Linked DNA regions of Homo sapiens: regions 1 and 2 are each linked to region 3. Evidence: promoter capture Hi-C in 16 types of primary human blood cells and fetal thymus (Javierre and others, 2016). All regions are on one chromosome and are shown on one strand. The core of a region is centred on a gene start or on the middle of the fragment in contact, and the rest is flanking DNA. Distances in the headings are between cores, read along the strand shown.

Region 1 (3,908 bases), core at 563-3,062, 190 kb after region 3:
TCGGCTTTAATACTGTTTCATGGATTCATTGGTACACCCTCCCACCGTGTTTATTTGTATTTTGCAATTGTTTGAGATTATTGTTTTGGTTTTTTGCACTAAGCAATTGCTTGGTTAATCCTAAACAACCACAGTGATGAGGAAAGCATGTGATTGTAACTAACTGCCTAGGGTGAGTACCTTTCAGTGAGGGTTTGATTTCAGTGTTAGCCAGAGAAGGCACTAGTAGCCATATTATTAGAAGATTGTAGTAAATTGTAAAGTCTGATCGGGAGTTTTGTTATTTTTTATGTAGCAAGACAGAAATTTTGTAGTTCAAATTGAGGTTTTTATATTCTAGATCTCAACCTGAAAATGAAATTACTTAATCATTAACACTGATTCTAATATCTGAAATGAGTTTTCTTCCATTTATCAAACTCAAGCCTACCCTTCCTTCCATGAAGGTTTAACATGAAGGTTTAATAATTTATGAAGGAAATTGAACTATGTTCTTTTCTAAAATCTTTGGAATGTTAGCAGATACTGTCATTGACACTGAAAAGTTGTTTAGAAAAGGAAAAATAGCTAAAGCTTCTGTCCACATTTTTTACTTGTATACTTTTTCTTTTTGCTTTAAAAATGTTCAGAATTTGGGAGCAAAAATTGAAAGCAAAAAACTAGTAATTATAATGCATGATGGCATCTATTAATATGTATTTTACTAGTTTTCATTCAGAGTCACCAAAATGTTCATAGTAACTTACTATGTTACTATGGAGTAAGATAGAAAAGCATTTTCTACCCTGCTCCCTGCCCCCCCCCCTTTTTTTTTTTGAGACAGAGTCTAGCTCTGTCACCCAGGCTGGAGTGTAGTGGCATGATCTTGGCTCACTGCAACCTCCACCTCCTGGCCTCAGCGTCCCGAGTAATTGGGATTGCAGGTGTGGGCCACCACGCCCGGCTAATTTTTGTATTTTTAGTCGACAGGGTTTTGCCATATTGGCCAGGCTGGTCTTGAACTCCTGACCTCAAGTGATCGGTCCGCCTCAGTCTCCCAAAGTGCTGAGGTTACAGGCGTGAGCCACTGCGCCCGGCTGGCATTTCCTACCTTACTCCATAGTAAAATAGTAAGTGTTGGCTTCTCAGAATTGCCAGCAGTCCATGTGTTATATGTGTATGTAATTGCTATTTGCTTTTCTTCCCAAAACATACAGAATTAGAGTGAATAGTATAATAAATTGAACTCCCCATGTACCCATGCCCAATTTAGCAATATTAGCACATAGTCAATATTATTTCCTCTGTATCCCTTCCATTATTTTGAAGCAATTCTGTTATTGTCAACCTTAAAGCGGTCATTGTATATCTGTAAAATACAAGGACTTTAAAAAAAAAACATAGCCGACCGGGCATGGTGGGTCACCTGTAATCTCAACATTGGGAGGCCAAGGCAGGCAGATCACTTGAGGCCAGGAGTTCGAGACCAGCCTGGCCAACATGGTGAAACCCTGTCTCTAATAAAAAATAAAAAAATTAGCTGGGCGTAGTGGTGCATTCCTGTAATCCCAGCTACTCTGGAGGTTGAGGCAGGAGGATCCTTTCAACCCAGGAGGCAGAGGTTGCAGTGAGCCGAGATGGTGCCACCACAGTCCAGCCTGGGCAACAGAGTGACACTCTGTCTCAAAAAAAAAATAGAATAAAATAACCACAATACCATAATCACTGAAAATTATAGTAAGGTATTTCGTAAATCTTTGGTTGCTTTAGGAAAATTGTGTGTGTGTGTGTGTGTGTGTGTGTGTGTGTGTCATTATATATGTTATTAGCCTTGATTTCCTCACAAAAGGAGAAGGTAGCTTAAGTTTGTAAATTTGACTTTTTTGCTAATACAGTTCTTCGTTTTATGAAATATTTTCTCTTTTTTTTTTTTTTTTTACCCCCGAGATGGAGTCTTGCTCTGTTGCCCAGGTTGGAGTGCAGTGGTGTGATCTCAGCTCACTGCAACCTCCACCTCCCGGGTTCAAGCGATTCTCCTGCCTCAGCCTCCAGAGTAGGTGGAATTACAGGTGCATGCCACCATGCCTGACTAATTTTTGTGTTGTTGTAGAGATGGGGTTTCACCATGTTTGCCGGGCTGGTCTTGAACTTTTGACAACAAGTGATCCTCCCTCGGCCTCCCAAAGTGCTGGGATTACAGGGGTGAGCCACCATGCCCAGCCTTTCTCTTCATTTCTTATAGTAAGTTAGGAAAATTGTTGTATTCATTTATCCAACAAAAATGTATTGCTCGGCTGGGAGCGGTGGCTCACGCCTGTAATCCTAGCACTTTGCGAGGCTGAGGCGGGTGGATCACCTGAGCTCAGGAGTTTGAGACCAGCCTGGCCAACATGGCGAAACCCTGTCTCTACTAAAAATACAAAAATTAGCCAGGTGTGGTGGCGCACGCCTGTAATCCCAGCTACTCGGGAGGCTGAGGAAGGAGAATCGCTTGAACCCGGGAGGTGGAGGTTGCAGTGAGCCGAGATCACGCCACTGCATTCCAGCCTGCGTGACAGGAGCAAGACTCCATTTCAAAAAAAAAATTAAAAGTATTGCTCTTAGGTAGATAACAGCAGGATAGTACAGATACAGCACTTGGTCCTAAAGAGCCATCATGTATTGGTGACAGTAAATGCACTTTTTTTTTCCAATGGGGATTATTCCAATTGAATGTAAACGCATTTCCATAACAGAATATGATAAATCCTACCATTGGGAAAAGTAAAATTGACCCTTGAACAACACGGGTTTGAGTTGAGTGTGTCCATTTATACGTGGAGTTTTTTCAATAAATATATTGGAACATTTTTTGGAGATTTGCAACAATTTGAAAAAACTTGAAGACGAATCACATAGCTTAGAAATATTTTTAAAATTTAAGAAAAGATAAGTACATCACAAATACATAAAATAGATGTATATACTAGTTTATCATTTTCCTACCACAAAATACATACGAATCATAAAAAGTTAAACTTTATAAAAACTTATGCACACAGTACATGGTGCCACTAGCAGTCCAGAGAAAGTAAAGCTTGAGTAATAACTGCATAAAATTAACTATAGTACATACTGTAATACTGTAATAATTTTGTAGCCACCTGTTGCTATTACAGTGAGCTCAAGTGTTGCCAGGCTCCACTTAAAATGCCCTATGACCTGTGACTCTTGATAATCTCTGCATGAGCAGTTGGTGTCTAAAGTAAATTGCATATCACAGTAAAAAATTATCCCTTGGTTCTTGTGTATTTTCATCATTGTTTATTGCAATACCGTATAAACTTGTTGTTTTGCTTTTTGTTGTTGTTGTTTTTGAGACAGTCTTGCTCTGTCGCCCAGGCTGGAGTGCAGTGGTGCCATCTCGGCTCACTGCAACCTCTGCTTCCCAGGTTCAAGCAGTTCTCATACCTCAGCCTCCCAGGTAGCTGGGATTACAGCCGTGTACCACCATGTCTGGCTAAGTTTTGTATTTTTAGTAGAGATGGGGTTTTGTCATGTTGGCCAGGCTGGGCTCGAACTCCTGGCCTTAAGTGATCCGCCCACCTTGGCCTCCCAAAGTGCTGGGATTAGAGGTGTAAGCCACAGCGCCTGGCCTATGTACAATACCATGACCTTTGAATAACGCCCTGAGACCCATACGAAGTGCAGCTAGTGACATTGGAAGTGCTCCGAAGAAGCAGAAAAGTCATGACAGTACAAGAAGTTAAATTGCTTGATATGTACGATAGACTGAGATCTGCACCTGGGGTTGCTGGCATTTGAGACAATTCATCTTTTGTATACAGATGACCTAAACTTAGGGTATTGATAAATACAGCACTGTAAATGTGTTTTCACATTTTTTTCTCTAGCTTACTTATAGTTATTTTTTTCCCTAAACATTCTAC
Region 2 (3,999 bases), core at 1,349-3,848, 130 kb after region 3:
GAGGAGTGCCAGGCAACCTGGGTGCTGGCCTGGGTAACTGGAGGACGATGGATCTTTTGCTGAGCTGATGGGCTCGGTGGGAGGAGGAGGCTGGGTGGGGGGCAAGGTGGTGGATGGAGTCTGGTCATGTGGGGCCAGTGGTGCTGGTGGGTCCTCCAAGGGGAGATTCCCAGCTAGCTGGAAGTCAAACTCTCGAGCCCAAGAGTTTGAGACCAGCCTGAGCAACATAGCAAGACCCTGTCTCTACAAAAAAGTTAAGATATTAGCCAGGCCTGGTGGCATACGCCTAGAGTCCTAGCTACTCAAGAGGCTGAGGTGGGAAGACTGCCTGAGCCTGAGAGGTTGAGGCTGCCGTGAGCTGTGATGGCACCACCGCACTCCAGTCTAGGTGACAGAGAGAGACCCTGTCTCAAAAAAAAAAAAAAAAAAAAAGAGAGAGAGAGACACCAGTCACTGGGCTGGGGCCACTGGGGCCCACCCTACTCCAATATGACCTCACCAAATGAGGCCACGTTCACAGGTACCAGGTGTTGGGAGCTGAACATATCTTTCTGGGAGACACAACTTAAGCTATCACAGAAGGGGAGGCCTGGCTATGATTATGGCTGGAGGGCTCCATGTAGTCGAGAGGAGAGTGTCCCAACAATGAAGAGACTCGGTCATGTCAATAGGTGAAGGTGTAGAGCTTCCAGCAGAGGTGGCCAGGGTGAAGCTCAGCGGCAAAGGGGGCAACAGCGCAGCAAGTTCCTGAGGAGGCAGAGGAAGGCCAGGGCTCGGGGGCAGGGGCAGCCTCCGACAGCCTGAGCACCAGAAAAAGGAGGACAAGCCACTGGAGGGCAGTTTGTGAGTGGCAAGGAGTTTGTGGGTGGCAGGGAGTTCTCAATGGGTGGCTAAGCAAGAAGGCAGGTAGCTGCTGAGAGGGGTGGGGGGCTGGGATGGGCCTGAAGGGAAGAGAAGAGAGGTGAAGAAGGCCCCAAGAGCGGGGGCGGATTAGGGACCTAGAGAAGGTTGCTAGGCAGTGCTGGGGGCCACTGAGTTTGGAAAGGTGGATTTGAGCGGCAAGAGTCTTTGTGGTCATGTGGCGGAATCTAGAGCCCCCAGCAGCCTAGGAGAAGGAGCAGGGAAGTCCAGTCAATGGAAACGTGGCATTTCTTCCCGCCATATGTCAGGAGGTAAGAAGGCAGGCAGGTGAGGCTGGTGGTGAGAGCGTCATCGATAGGGCGTGCAGCAGGGTCCATGGTGGATAGAGAACGAGGTGAAGGCAGAGTGGAGCCAGGAGGTCGTGGTCTTGAGGCAGTACTGGGTTGACCCTCCCTGGCCCAAGAGGTTGGAGGGGGTGGAGGTTTCAGAGGCCAGGGGTGCAGTGGAGACTGCGGGTAAAAGCAAAGGGCAGCAGAGGAGGGAGCAGCCATGGGGGCAGCACTGCCCACCTCACTCCTCTCTCCTCCCCACAGCATCCTGATCAGGTTTATCTCCAACCCCATGGCCCCCTCCTGGTGGGGCTTCCTGGTGGCTGGGCTGATGTTCCTGTGCTCCATGATGCAGTCGCTGATCTTACAACACTATTACCACTACATCTTTGTGACTGGGGTGAAGTTTCGTACTGGGATCATGGGTGTCATCTACAGGAAGGTCAGCTGGAGCAGGGCCCAGGGGAAAGGCTGGCCCTGGGCAGCTTGCAAGAGGCTCGCAGCCAAGTCCACCCACTACTGTCTACCTGCAGGCTCTGGTTATCACCAACTCAGTCAAACGTGCGTCCACTGTGGGGGAAATTGTCAACCTCATGTCAGTGGATGCCCAGCGCTTCATGGACCTTGCCCCCTTCCTCAATCTGCTGTGGTCAGCACCCCTGCAGATCATCCTGGCGATCTACTTCCTCTGGCAGGTGACTCTCCAACCCTGACCTCTGCCTCCTTCCTCTGACATGCTGCAGAAGTGGCAAGAGAGGATTATTCTGGAACTGGGAGCATGGCACATGCTTGTAGTCCCAGCTGCTCAGGCGGCTGAGGCAAGAGGATCACTTGAGCCCAAGAGTTCTGGCTGCAGTGCGCCACGATTGTGCCTGCGAATAGCCACCACACTCCAGCCTGGGCAACATAGCAAGACCTTGTCTCTAAAAAGAAACAAAGAAAACAGAAAAAAAGAAGGAGGGTTATTCTGGGTTAGCAGAGGGGATATAGAATTGACACAAGAGCTGGCTGGGCACGGTGGCTCACGCCTGTAATCCCAGCATTTTGGGAGACCAAGGCGGGTGGATCACGAGGTCAGGAGTTCGAGACCAGCCCGGCCAGGATGGTGAAACCCCATCTCTACTAAAAATACAAAAATTAGCCAGACGTGGTGGCGGGTGCCTGTAGTCACAGCTACTCAGGAGGCTGAGGCAGGAGAATCGCTTGAACCCAGGAGGCAGAGGTTGCAGTGAGCCGAGATCATACCACTGCACTCTAGCCTGGGTGACAGAGCAAGACTCTGTCTCAAAAAAAAAAAAAAAAAAAAAAAAAGAATTGACACAAGAGCTTCCCTAGGCATTGGTGGGGATGGAGGGATAGGACTTCGAGGATGCTGATGTCTGCAAAGGAATCTTCCCAACATCTGTTGCTATCCTTCCTGCAGAAGCCAGGGAGGAAAGAAAGTCTTGGAGGGAGGTGGGTGTGACTCTGGCTGTCATCGTCTATATTTGCCTTCCTGTGTGTCTGGACACCCTTCTATATCTGCTGTCTGTCCCTGTCGTCGTTATCTAATGGCTGGCTGCTTCTACAAATGTTGTGGTCATTCTGACTTTCTATCTGTTTGGCCAACCACCATCTTTTGCTTCCTGCCCATCTACACATTTCAAGTTAACAGGCCTCTGTTTGCCTGTTGGGTTCTCTCTGTAGACTTTGGTAATCTGTCCCTATGTGTCATCTATCCACCGGTGCCTCCTCAGAACCTAGGTCCCTCTGTCCTGGCTGGAGTCGCTTTCATGGTCTTGCTGATTCCACTCAACGGAGCTGTGGCCGTGAAGATGCGCGCCTTCCAGGTAGGTGCTGTCAGAGGTGCATCCTCCTGCCTGCAGCACCCGGCCGGCTGCCTGGGGGAAGGTGTCCACTAACCTTGGGGCCTCCCAACTACCTTGCTTCCTGAGTATGGATGGCTACTAGCCATTTGCAGAAACCATAGCTCACTCTTCCCTCACAGCTCTCAGAGGGTTTTACTGACATTCTCATTTTGTAGCAGAAGACCAACGCTTAGAGAAATAATGGCAGTCCAGAATCAGGCAGGGCTGGGACTCAAACCTGACTATCCTGGTCTAACAAGGAGTTTTCCCGCTGCACTGTGCTAAGCATGAATAGCCAGTCACTCAGTCTACTATTTGCAAACATTTCTTGAAGTGTTTTTTTTCTTTTTTTTTTTTTTTGAGACAGGGTCTCGTTCTGTCACCCATGCTGGAATGCAGTGGCATGATCTCGGCTCACTGCAACCTCTGCCTCCCGGGTTCAAGCGATCTTCCTGCCTCAGCCTCCCTAGTAGCTGGGACTACAGGCACATGCCACCACACCCGGCTTATTTTTGTATTTTTTTTTTTAGTAGAGATGGGGTTTCACCATGTTGGCCAGGCTGGTCTCAAACTCCTGACCTCAGGTGATCCGTTCATCTTAGCCTCCCAAAGTGCTGGGATTACAGGTGTGAGCCATCACACCTGGCCTATTGAAGTCTACTAGCTTCCCACTGCCCATAGGAAAAATGACAAACCCCCTAAGAAGACTCAGCAGGCTTCTGCTTACCTTGCAAGTCCTCACCCCCTGCGGACTGGCCAAGTTTCAGCCAGTCTGGTCTTCTTTCTTTTCTCCACAGCACCAAGCTCAGGGTACCTCTAGGGGCCACCACATATACTATTCCCTCTGCCTGGAATGCTTGTCATCCCCCTCTTGCCTGCCTAACTCCTTTCCTTCCCTTACCTCTCGGCATTGAAGTCACTTCCTCGGCTGGGCACGGTGGCTCATGCCTGTAATCCCAGAG
Region 3 (3,882 bases), core at 144-2,643:
GACACCCTGGTGACTGACCTGATGGTCCTGGCTGATGAGCTCAGCCCCATAAAGAATGTCGAGGAGGCTTTGCGCCTCTGCAGGTGACTCTCGGGCCCAAGCAACCTTCTGGAAAACGGGTTAATAAATAAATCAATAAAGAACCTTCAAGTTTCTACTACTTCCGTGTGCCTCTGTGTCTTGCATGATGGATCTTGGCTAGGTCAGCTCCTGATCCAGGTCCTCCCATGTTCCACCTGCCCTCAGATCCCCTCCTGCCAGCTGCCAGAGCCCTCCTGCAGGAGGACAGACAGACATAGCTGGGGAAGTGATGTGTGGGATGCCAAGCAGAGGAGCAGATTGGTAGCAAGACAAGGAGTCAGGTGACAGGACAGTGTGTCACCTCTGGTAGTCCCTGCCTCTGGCTTCCTTGGCCCACACTTTCAGGGTCGTGCTTCCTGGAGCCAGGTCTTCCCGAAGTGTCATCACCAAGTATGACAAAGTGTGAGATGAGGAGTAGAACTAGACCCATGGGACCTGGCTCCCTGCCATCTCCCCTCTTCAGCTGGGTCCCAGGGCCCCAATTCAGTCCCTGAAGATCATGCTCACCACACCTCTTCAGCTCTAGAGGCCACATCACCTTGTTATTTCGGGGTCTAGTCTGCCTTATCCCCCTCCTCATCTCAAACTATCTGGCCTTGAGCCATCTTTCTGCCTTAAAAACAGCTGCTGATCTTCATGCTACCTCCCTTGCTCAGGGGAACATGAAACAGGCTAGAAATGGCTCTCAGAAAAAAAGGTATTGTCAGCTCAAACTCAGGCCCCTCATTGTCTTCTGTCAGTCATAACCATTTGGGGCTGGGCTCCCTGTGTGAAGAGCACTCCAGGCTCCCAGAGTTTGAAGAACAACTTTGGTTTTTGGGTGGGTGGGCATCCTTAAGTGGGCCTCAGGCATCCTCCAGCTGAGATGCAGGAGGGGGAGGATGGACAGAAGGATCTGACTCCGTGTGGGAAAGGCAGGGAGGGGGCTGTGCTGGAGTCCTGATGCTCTCCTCCCCAAGAAGACGAGAAGACGGGGGCTCCACCAAAGAGCCAGCCCCAGGGAATGTCCCTGCCCTCTCCTTTAATGTCCTCCCGGCCCAGAGGAGGAAGGGGAGGGGTGTGGTGGGGGTGTTGGAGCCCCCCTCCTTTCCTGTTGAAGAGGCAGGGGAAGGGTTAACTCAAAGCAGAGGGGATCAGGTCGCCAGCACTGGCTCCAGATGTGCACTTCCTGGGGGCGGCCAACAGGCAGGCCCCCCACCTCTCAATGCACCACTTGCCTGGCCAGCAGGAAGGGGTTAACCTGCCCTGCACTTCCTCCTGTGTCCTGTTACTGCTGAGGCAGACCTGCCGGGCCAGCTGAGCAACTTTCCTCGGAGTGCTGCCTGGCGCTGGCTAGGAGGCAAACGCACGCGGGAAGAGCTGCTACCCATTCCAGGGACCCTGCCGCTGCCCCTCTGAGGGGTCTGCACCTCCTGGGAGCAGGTGGGTCTCTGGGACGAGGGTCCATGGTGGATGGCTCTGGAGACGCTCCCGAGGCTGTGCCGTCCCGCTGCTGCACAGGTCGGAGGGTCACCGCAGAGGCTACTCGGGCTGGGGCTGGGGCCGAGGGAGCCCGCACTGGAGGTAAGCTTCCTCCCTGGCCCCCTCCCTGGCAGTGGCGGCATGGAAGGCGGGGGTTGGTGGGGAGCAAACAGTGGTTCTGGGGCTTAGTCTCTTTTCCAGGTGCGAGGGAGAAGGCTGAGCTGTAGAGGACCTAAAGGCTTCTTTCCTGCCACCCCTCCCTCCCTGCCGCCCCCAAAAAGGGACTCAGGGCCCCCTCCCCAACCATCCTGGGACTTAGCATCTTTGGTGGCATCTTAGCATCTTTGGTGGCATTCCCCACAGACTCCTTCTGCACATCTCTGCTGTTTCCTCTTCTTCAGCCCCTCATGCACACCTCTAGCCTCAGGGCAGTCCCCCCTCCCCCATCTTCTGTGCTCCCGGGATGCAGCTATTACAGTGGCCAGAAGCTTAGAGTTCAAGCTCACCCCCTGTCCCTTACAGCATCAAGAAGGGCACTGTCATTCCCCACTGCTCAGGCTGGATCTGACTTGGAGGCAGGGGCTGGAGCCCACCTTAGCAGAGGACGGGAAGAGGGTGTGGGCTGGGCTGGTGGGTGCACAGACTTTACGCAAACTCATGCACGTGTGACTGGACAGATCTGGGTTCTCTCCATCTCTCCGAAACCCTTGCTGGGGATGAGCGATCTGCATTTTTCGGTCCTGACTTTTGGGAAACTCTCCAGATCCCCCCATCCTGCAGGCCCTGAGAAGAGCAGCCCCTCCCTACTGCGCAGTTCTCCTTGGGACCCTGTATGCAGGAGAGAGCTGATACTCCGTGCCCCGTGGCCCATCCCACCGCCTGCTGGCCCTGCTCCCATCCCCTCAGCTTCCTCCCTCCTCTGCCCTCTCGTCATCTCTGAATTCTCAGGCCCTGCCCTCTCTGTGCCCTTCCCTCCACCTGACAGGGTCTGGCTCAAGGTCACTGCAGTAATTCCATACCCAGCTGCCCAGGGCTGCTGCTGCTACCGCCACCGCCTTATCGGCCGCTGGGTTTCTGTTACACTCCCTTTTATTTCTGGGCATATCGTGTTCGATAAAACCCTTTGCTTGTAACACTGCTGGCAGCGCTCCCAGCTGCTCCCTCCCGCGTTCCCGCGTTCCTTCCTTTCCTCCTCCCTTCTCTGCGCTTGGGCAGGCTTCTTCCTTTCCTCCTCCCTTCTCTGCGCTTGGGCAGGCTTCTTCCTTTCCTCCTCCCTTCTCTGTGCTTGGGCAGCCTCACCTTGTCCCCTCAAACTCCAGAGAAGGAAAATCAAGGTGCCTCCCCATGTTTCTGGCCCCGCCCTTCCCCCCAGCCCCTGCAGGGGTGTGCAGAGAATGCCCACCTTCTGTGAGAAAGGTCCAGGCAGGGCCGCTGGGCCCACACCGAGAGTCCCCTCCCAGAGGCTGGTGCCCCCACACAGGCCAGGCCGGAGGGCCAGGGCAGCCAGGTCCAGGTAGGGCTCTGGTGCAGTCACAGTGCCCGACTGGTTCTGCTAGTTCCAGCGGCCAGCCGGTAGGGGCGTGTGCTGGGCGGGCTTTGGTGCACATTATTTCCCATCTTGACTCTGCCACCCCCAGCCACGGGTTGGGGAGGTGAAGGCAGGTCTGAGTCACTAGCAAGGGGGAGGGCAGGAGTTAAACAAGTTGTGGCCGTGGCATTCCCACAGAAGGCCCACGACCCGCTGGAAGGAAAGAGATAGCAGACAAAAGGTAGGCTGCGCTGTGGGCCAGGCACTCTCCACCTCGCCCACTCCCACGGTATCTTATTCTCTGGGCCCCCAACAAAACCTGCCAAGGCATGTTTTCAAAGCGTGGGGCTGCTTTGAACTGAGCCCAGCACTGGCGGGGCTGGGGTGGAAGGAGCGTGGAATCGGGTGCGAGAGGACAGTCTCCTTCAGATTCCTGCTTCTGGCAGCCTGGGGACCAGTTGGGGCACGGGCTGGGATGGAGGGTGGAGCCGAAAGGTGTTTGGTGGGTGGGGGACAGTTCACGGGTGAAGTGGAGGCTCTGCAGGCCCAGACAGTGTGTGTGTGCATGCACACACCAGTGCTAGTGTGGGAGGAATGGTGGTGGTCAGGGAATTCCTCTTTTGGTTTCTGAAAGGGCCTTTGGGAGGACCTTGGGCCTGGAGTTGTATTCAGCAGATAGCCTGGACCTGTGGCTACTGGGGGGAATTGGGCTGGCCCAGCTCTTCTCCCTGCTGGGGTACCAGAGGTCCACTATGTGTCCAGCGTTTTGGGGCTTTGGAGAACCCAGACTGTTCCTACTCTCAGGGAGCTTC

What was found. The method cuts DNA at HindIII sites, captures the fragments that hold promoters and counts their contacts. A CHiCAGO score of 5 or more calls a contact.
Region 1: a fragment that was not itself captured here is called in contact with the fragment with the promoter of EPN3 in region 3 in 6 of 17 cell types (endothelial precursors, M2 macrophages, M1 macrophages and 3 more); the score reaches 9.1 in endothelial precursors.
Region 2: a contact is called between a fragment that was not itself captured here and the fragment with the promoter of EPN3 in region 3, in 5 of 17 cell types (megakaryocytes, M1 macrophages, M0 macrophages and 2 more). The highest score is 7.0, in megakaryocytes.

Annotation. Positions count from the first base shown.
Region 1 is chr17:50,722,857-50,726,764 of GRCh38, forward strand. The region is part of intron 1 of LUC7L3 (LUC7 like 3 pre-mRNA splicing factor); the gene reads left to right. Among named protein-coding and RNA genes, the nearest start is that of LUC7L3, 5.2 kb to the left of the region's middle. RefSeq lists an enhancer at 2,080-2,579. The HindIII fragment of the contact is 2,482 bases long and covers 572-3,053 here.
Region 2 is chr17:50,662,227-50,666,225 of GRCh38, forward strand. ABCC3 (ATP binding cassette subfamily C member 3) reads left to right here. Exons shown (of 31, transcript NM_003786.4): 9 at 1,455-1,632; 10 at 1,724-1,885; 11 at 2,927-3,019. Among named protein-coding and RNA genes, the nearest start is that of ABCC3, 29 kb to the left of the region's middle. RefSeq lists enhancers at 1-159, 1-803. The HindIII fragment of the contact is 7,512 bases long and covers 1-3,999 here.
Region 3 is chr17:50,531,342-50,535,223 of GRCh38, forward strand. It overlaps EPN3 (epsin 3), which reads left to right and starts at 1,394. Exons shown (of 10, transcript NM_017957.3): 1 at 1,394-1,644. MYCBPAP (MYCBP associated protein) reads left to right here. Exons shown (of 19, transcript NM_032133.6): 19 at 1-160. The coding sequence ends at 87. RefSeq lists enhancers at 2,260-2,936, 2,937-3,613. The HindIII fragment of the contact is 5,271 bases long and covers 1-1,647 here.